Linked DNA regions of Homo sapiens: all the other regions are linked to region 2. Evidence: promoter capture Hi-C in human tissues and cell types (Jung and others, 2019). All regions are on one chromosome and are shown on one strand. The core of a region is centred on a gene start or on the middle of the fragment in contact, and the rest is flanking DNA. Distances in the headings are between cores, read along the strand shown.

Region 1 (2,700 bases), core at 138-2,637, 37 kb before region 2:
AAAGTTATTGGCTTTAAAGAGGTGGTAGAGAAAGAGATAGGAGTAGAAAGTTTATTCAAAGGTGTAATAACATAGAATTTCCCAAACCTATATCATTATTCAAGTACAAGGTTATAGAACACCAATCAGATTTAGCCCAAATAAGACTACCTCAAGGTATTTAATAAACTTCCGAAGGTCAAAATAAAGTATCCTAAAAGCAGCAAGAGACAAGAAACAAATAACATACCATGAAGCTCAAATACATCTAGGAACTGACTTTTCAACAGAAAGCTTACAGACCAGGAGAATGGTATGACATGTTTACAGTGCAGAAGGAAAAATACTTTTATTCTGGAATACCATATCCAGGGAAAATATTAGTTAAATATGAAGAAGAATTGAAGACTTTCCAGAAAAACAAGAGCTGGCGAATTTCATCAACACCAGACCAGACAATAACTACAAATAAAATAAAATACCAAGGAATTAACCACAGAAGTGAATGATTTCTACAATGAAAACTATAAAACGCTGATGCAATAAATTGGAGAAGACACAAAATACTGGAAAGATGTTTCACGTTCATGGATTAGGAGAATAAATATTGTTAAAATGTCCACTCTATCTAAAGTAATATACAGATTCAATTCAATCCTTATCAAAATACCAATGACATTTTTCACAGAAATAGGAAAAAAAGTCCTAAAATCTATGTGGAACCACAAAAGACCCAGAATAGCAAAGATTTATTAAGTAAAAAGAACAAAACTGGAGGAATCACATTATTTGACTTTAAGTTATACTACAGAGCTTTAGTAATCAAAACGGCATGGTTCTGGTATAAAAACAGACACATAGATCAGTGGAACAGAATAGAGAACCCAGAGATAAATCTATACATCTACAGTGAACTCAATTTTGACAAAGGTGCCAAGATCATACATTAGGGAAAGAACACCATTTTCAATAAGTGGTGCTGGGAAAACTGGATATTCGTATGCAGAAGAATAAAACTAGACCCCTTTCTCTCACCATATAGAAAACTCAAATCAAAATGGATTAAAGACTTAAATGTAAGACCTCAAACTATGAAAATACTAAAAGAAAACATTGGAGAATGCTCTCAGACATTGGACTGGTTGAAGATTTATTGACTAATACCTCAAAAGCACAGGCAACCAAAGCAAAAATGGACAAATGATCACATCAAGTTAAAAATCTCTGGCACAGCAAAGGAAACAATCAACAAAGTGAAGACAAAACCCATAGACTGAGAGAAAATATTTGAAAACTACCCATCTGACAGAATATATAAAGAGCACAAATAACTCTCTAGGGACAAATCTAATAATCTGATTTAAACATGGGCAAAAGATCTGAATAGGCATTTCTCAAAAGAAGACATAAAAATGGCAAACAGGTATATGAAAAGGTCCTCAATATCACTGATTGTCAGAGAAATACAAATCAAAACTACAATGAGATATCACCTCACCCCAGATAAAATGGTTTTTATCCAAAAGTCAGTCAGGCTATAACAAATGCTGGCAAGGATGTGAAGCAAAGAGAACCCTTGTACACTGTGGGTTAGAATGTAAATTAGTAGAATCACTATGGACAACAGTTTGACAGTTCCTCAAAAAATTAAAAATAGAGTTACCATACAATCCTGCAATCCCACTCCTAGGTACGTACACAAAAGAAAGGAAATTAGTGTATTGAAAAGGTGCCTGCACTACAATGTTTGCTACAGCTCTGCTCACAATAGTTACACAATGGAAGCAACACAAGTGTCCAACAACAGATGAATGGATAAAGAAAATTTGGTAACTATACACAATGGGGTTCTAGTCAACCATAAGAAGAATGAAATCCTGTCATTTGCAACAACATGGATGAAACTGGAGTTCATCATTTTAAGCAAAATGAGCCAAGCACAAAAAGACAAACTTCACATGTTCTCATTTATTTGTGGAAGCTAAAAATTAAAATAATCAAACTCTTGGAGCTAGAGAGTAGAAGCATGGTCTGGTAAGGGTAGTTGGGGGAAGTGGGGAGGAAATAGTGATGGTTGATGGGTACAAAAATAGAAATAATTATTAGGACTTAGTGTTTGTTAACACAACAGAATGACTGTAGTCAAAAATAATTTAATCATACATTTTAAAACTACTAACATATTATAACTGGATTGTTTGTAACACAAAAGATAAATGCTTCAGGTCATGGATACCCCATTTACCCTGATGTGATTACTATTTATTGCATGCCTTTATCAAGATATCTCATGTATCTCATATATATACACCTACTATATACCCATAAAAATAAAAATTAAATCAAAAATTTAAAAAACTGGAATCCAATACTACTTCATTCTCTATCCTCTTACCTTTCTCTATGCTTCTTCATTTAACTACAATTCCAGACAATAAATTATGCATTATTTGAATTGGTTTATTTATTATTTCATCAGTGGAAAAAATTGTTTCTTCTCTCTGCTACGGTAACTTTCTCCCTGATTAGCTTAGTGCACAGTTATCAATCAATAAATATCTATGAATGAACATATCCATTTAGTATAAATACATTCACTTTGACTCTGAGTCATAGTGCACACACACACACACCCAAGCACGCACACACGTGCTACTTCGACAGAAAATAATCAAATATATTTACAAAGTAATTATAAGTTGTAAAGCTAATACAGTTATG
Region 2 (2,700 bases), core at 124-2,623:
ACAGGAAGGCTCAGAGATTAATGCGTTATTAGCAACCAAAAAAAAAAGCTGGCTGACATAAACATTTCTTGAATATGTTCATGCCTATCTTAATCCAGTAAAGTATTTATTTAAAAGTAGTTTCAAATGTACTACACAAATGATATATTCTGCAGCAAAGGCACTGAAGCATAGATTGACTAAAGGACTCACCTTATACTGCTACTGGGTAATGGCCAAGTTGCGACTTTATAGACATATGTTTCATGTATGTATGTAGACATATATTCCATAGTATTTTACATAATGCAAAATGTCGTACAAATATTTAATCAAAAGAAAATGTGAGAAGAGCCCATAAAAAATCCTCTTATTAAAAGATGCTACTTTTTACCAAAAAAAAAATTCATCACAGTGTCACTTAAATTTTTTTTTAATAATCATAAAATATTTACTCCCAGAGCCTTTGCTAGAACTTTCTTTAATGCCCCTTTCACCTCCTTGATCCTCAAGGTATAAATAAGAGGGTTAAGCATGCGGGTTACCACAGTGTAGAAGAGAGAAACAAACTTGCCCTGGTCCCTGGATCTACTCTTGGCTGGCTGCAGATACATGAAGATGATGGTTCCATAAAAGATGGTGACCACTGTCAGGTGGGAGAAGCAGGTCCCGAATGCTTTCTGTCTCCTGGTAGCTGACTTAATCCTCAACACTGCGTGGGCAATGTAGCCAGAGGAGACCAGGATGAATGAGACAGGCACTATAAGGAAAAGGATACTAGCCACAAAAAGCTCAGCCTCGTTAAACGTGGTGCCCACACAAGCCAGCTTGATGAGCACAGGGACCTCGCAGATGAAATGATCCACTTGGCGATGCCCACAGAAGGGCAGCTGCAGGGTGAGGGTGGACTGTACCAGGGTGGTGGCTATTCCACTGAGCCATGCCATAGATGCCAAGGCCATGCAGAGATGGATATGCATTAAGACAGTGTAATGGAGAGGACGGCAGACAGCCACATAGCGGTCACAGGACATCACAGCCGGGAGGACGCACTCAGTGGATCCCAGGGCATGGGAGTTGTAAAGGTGAACCAAACAGCCACCATAGGCGATAGTTTTCATGGGTTCCCACAGGTTTACCAGGAGCTGGGGAATAACACTGCTGGTGAAGCAGCGGTACAGGAAGGAGAGATGAGAAAGGAAGAAATACATCGGCATATGAAGCTTGGGTTCCAGACGAGAAACCAGAATGATGGTGGTATTCCCCAAAATAGTTAGTAAATACAGAATCAATATGAGCACAAATAGAACCTTCTGTAACTGAGGATAATCAGAAAACCCTAAAAGGATGAAACCTGCTAGGTTGCTCTCATTGGTATGTCTCACCATCCCCATATGTAAAGTGTGTTCCCCAAGGCTGAGGCATAGCTGAGAAAGATAACACATCACATAGGGTTAAATGAGTGACAATGTCACCTGCCTACCCAAAAAAGTATTGTATGTTAAATGCTTAGAAGCTATGTCTTTACATCCAGTGACTTAGATCTATTTATTTTCCGAATATGTGCATTATAAATAAATGCAATACACATCCTTCAAATATCTTAGCTGTTCTTCAATGCTTTCCGAAGCAGAGAAGAGCAAGAGCAGACATTAGGAAACATCATCATCTTTTGCAGGAAATAAATTTGACCCTTCCTTTAAAATAAATTTCCCCTTTTATATTAATGTATTTCAAGTTACAGAAAAAGGGAGTCTCGAGATACCATCTCACACCAGTTAGAATGGCGATCATTGAAAGTCAGGAAACAACAGGTGCTGGAAAGGATGTGGAGAAATAGGAACACTTTTACACTGTTGGTGGGACTGTAAACTAGTTCAACCATTGTGGAAGTTGGTGTGGCGATTCCTCAGGGATCTAGAACTAGAAATACCATCTGACCCAGCCATCCCATTACAGGGTATATACCCAAAGGATTATAAATCATGCTGCTATAAAGACACATGCACACGTATGTTTATTGGGGCACTATTCACAATAGCAAAGACTTGGAACCAACCCAAATGTCCAACAATGTTAGACTGGATTAAGAAAATGTGGCACATAGACACCATGGAATACTATGCAGCCATAAAAAAGGATGAGTTCATGTCCTTTGTAGGGACGTGGATGAAGCTGGAAATCATCATTCTCAGCAAACTATCTCAAGGACAAAAAACCAAACACCGCATATTCCCACTCATAGGTGGGAATTGAACAATGAGAACACATGGACACAGGAAGGGGAACATCACACACCGGGGACTGTTGTGGGGTGGGGGGACGGGGGAGGGATAGCATTAGGAGATATACCTAACGCTAAGTGACGAGTTAATGGGTGCAGCACACCAACATGACACATGTATACAAATGTAACGAACCTGCACATTGTGCACATGTACCCTAAAACTTAAAGTATAATAATAATTAAAAAAAGAAAAAGGTTTTAATAATCACAAGACCTATTTGTGTACATTGGAAAGGAATCAAAATTTTAAAAATGGGTATTAAATATGTCACTCCATCAGTTACTAACAGTGATAAAAAAAAAAAAAGAACTAATGTGCAGCCTAAATTACTTCTCAAATACTGGATCCCTAAAAGGCTAAAAGAAAATAGTTTATGAAGAAAAGGGCAAAGAAGAAAGAACAACAATGGCACTTAAATAATAAAAGAAATCCC
Region 3 (2,700 bases), core at 172-2,671, 35 kb after region 2:
ACCAAATTAATAAATCAACTAATACTCTATTGTTTTCAAAAATAGGTATTTTATTAAGCTTTAGATGTATCTTGGCCAAAGAATTAAGATTATGAATAATTTTTTATACCTTCTGTGTTTTTTCTTCTTATTTTTAAACTTTCTAAATGTTGGATGTTGACTTATGACTTCATAACTCTACAAAGAAAGTCTTAGTAAACATCCCCCAAAATCAACAATTTGCACATGATTTCTCCAACTATCAAGCAGTAAAATTAAAACCCAATAAGCTATAACCAAAAGTGTACCTGTCTAGGCACAAGTAATATTCTAAATAATCCTTATGTTAAAGAGGGAATCATAAAGGAACTTTCTAAAAACACAGAATAAAATAATAATGCAAGCTACACAAGACTATTTGAAGGATAAAGTGAAGTGTGAAGAAAATAGCTTGCTAAAATACATTCATAAGAAAACATAAATGACTAATAATGACAAAGTAAGCATTTATCTTAAGAAGTTGGGAGAAGAAAAAGGAAACAAGAAAGTTGTGGGTAAAAATAAATATGATAGGGAACCAAATCTTAGAAAAGAATAATATCAGTAAGATAGCAAAAGTCTGGAAAGACCAACTAAAGAAATAAGGAATGGAGACAAAAATATAATGAAAACAGAAAGTTCAAAATAAGTATTACAGACATAAAACAGGCATGATGAAGAATTATGTATAATAAACATTATGGCTTAAAATGAATAATATCTTGGAAAAAATGAAATATAAAAACTGACACATGAATAACATCAATAACAAAAAAATCCAGCTTACACAGCTGCGTACACAATTTACCAAACTTCAAGTGACAAATATACTCTCTCATATATAAGATGTTCCAGAAAGTAGAGAAATGTAAAATGATGCCAACCCATTTAATGAGATTGGTAAACTTTCATTTCAAATTAAATAAATCAAATTTTTAAAAATCACAGGTCCAACTCGATCATGAAAATAGATGCAATAATCCTCAATAAAATATAAGTTAACTAAATCTAAAACTATAGTAAAATTGCACACATCACAATCAAATGGGTTTTATCCCAGAAATTAAAAGATAGGTAATTAGCAAAAATATTTATTAACATAATTAACTACTTTAGAAGCCTAAGAGAAGAATCATGAGGTTATCTCAATAGTTTAAAACTGCATTTGATAATGTTTGGTCCTTATTAACAATAAAAACCCTCAGAAGAGCTGGGTGCAGTGGTGCAGGCCTGTAATCCCAGCTCCTTGGGAGGCTGAGGCAGGAAGATCACTTGAGGCCAGGAGTTCAAAGCTGTAGTGCACTCTGATTGCATCTGTGAATAGCCACTGCACTCCAGACCGGGCAACATAGTGAAATCTCATCTCTACATATTTTTTTAAAAAGTAGAATCTCCTTATTTTGATAGAGGCAATATGCCAAAAACATAAATGCCAAATATAAATGTCAAAAATATACAGCAACCTTGATGAAAACAATTTAGAAAAAAATTATTATGATCAGTTACAAGAAAATGATGCCTAAGAATTCTGACATAACTATGCTATAAAACATGATAAAGGTACCTATAAGACTTGTAAGGAACAAAAAAAGAATAGAAAAATCTTTAACTTTATAGATGATATATTAACTATGTAAACCCAGTAGGATTAAAAAACCATGAAAAAAAATGAGAAATTCAACAAGGCTAGTGGATACAAAGTCATCTTGCAAAATTCAATAGCATTCCAACAATAACAGGCTAGGAAAAAATGTCATTCATAGATTTATTACTGTTGCATATGGTATCTAGAAATCTATCTAACAAAGAATAAAATAAAAACAAAAAATTAAAGCTCTATCAGAATGCATTAAAGAAGATTTGAATAAAGATAATTATAAATAATTGTTTTGATTGGTGTATTAATAGTATATCTGCATAGACCAGGCGCAGTGGCTCACGCCTGTAATCCCAGCACTTTAGGAGGCCGAGGCAGGTAGATCACAAGGTCAGGAGTTCAAGACCAGCCTGGCCAATATGGTGAAACCCCGTCTCCACTAAAAATACAAAACTTAGACGGGCATGGTGGTGCGTGCCTGTAGTCCCAGCTACTCGGTAGGCTGAGGCAGAAGAATCGCTTGAACCTGGAAGGTGGAGGTTGCAGTGAGCCGAGATCATGCCACTGCCCTCCAGCCTGGGTGACAGAGCAAGACTCCATCTCAAAATATATATACATATAGTACATCTGCATAAACATAGAAGAATTTGCAAATAGATCTCTATATTCACAATGTTGTCTGAATCCAAATTCAAGCTGGCACTTTTTATATAATACACAAATTCAGAATTTGTGTACAAATTTATATGGGAGGATAAAGTCTTCAAAGAACTAAATCAATTTTGAAATAAAGACTAAAGAGGGTATGTGATGGACACTGCCCATGGGCGATGTCTACATTTACTTCACCCTCTTGCTAGTCAGGGGCTAGAAAGCAGCAGCTACCTTCCCCAGACTCATCTGCAGCCAATTATCAGGCTGCAAATTAGGCACTGCCCAAGGTAACAGGCCTCTGACAAGCAGGGTCAGAGCAACAGGAGGCTCTCTGCATCCGTGTTCTAGAGGCCATTCTCCAGCCTTCTCTCACACCACATCTGTGATCCCAATGACTGACACACACCAAGGTGACTCCTTGGGAATGCATT

Evidence for each region. The method cuts DNA at HindIII sites, captures the fragments that hold promoters and counts their contacts. A contact is called where the count stands out against the background at its distance.
Region 1: a fragment that was not itself captured here is called in contact with the fragment with the promoter of OR2G2 in region 2 in 4 of the 25 tissues and cell types used here (liver, small bowel, stomach and 1 more).
Region 3: a contact is called between a fragment that was not itself captured here and the fragment with the promoter of OR2G2 in region 2, in 2 of the 25 tissues and cell types used here (mesendoderm cells and thymus).

The regions. Positions count from the first base shown.
Region 1 is chr1:247,624,162-247,626,861 of GRCh38, reverse strand. The region is part of intron 2 of LOC102724446 (a long non-coding RNA gene); the gene reads left to right. Among named protein-coding and RNA genes, the nearest start is that of OR14L1, 8.4 kb to the right of the region's middle. The HindIII fragment of the contact is 5,542 bases long and covers 1-2,700 here.
Region 2 is chr1:247,587,033-247,589,732 of GRCh38, reverse strand. It overlaps OR2G2 (olfactory receptor family 2 subfamily G member 2), which reads right to left and starts at 1,373. Exons shown (of 1, transcript NM_001001915.1): 1 at 420-1,373. The coding sequence starts at 1,373. The coding sequence ends at 420. The region is part of intron 2 of LOC102724446 (a long non-coding RNA gene); the gene reads left to right. The HindIII fragment of the contact is 12,436 bases long and covers 1-2,700 here.
Region 3 is chr1:247,552,292-247,554,991 of GRCh38, reverse strand. All of the region lies in intron 1 of GCSAML (germinal center associated signaling and motility like), which reads right to left. Among named protein-coding and RNA genes, the nearest start is that of GCSAML, 4.5 kb to the right of the region's middle. The HindIII fragment of the contact is 9,997 bases long and covers 1-2,700 here.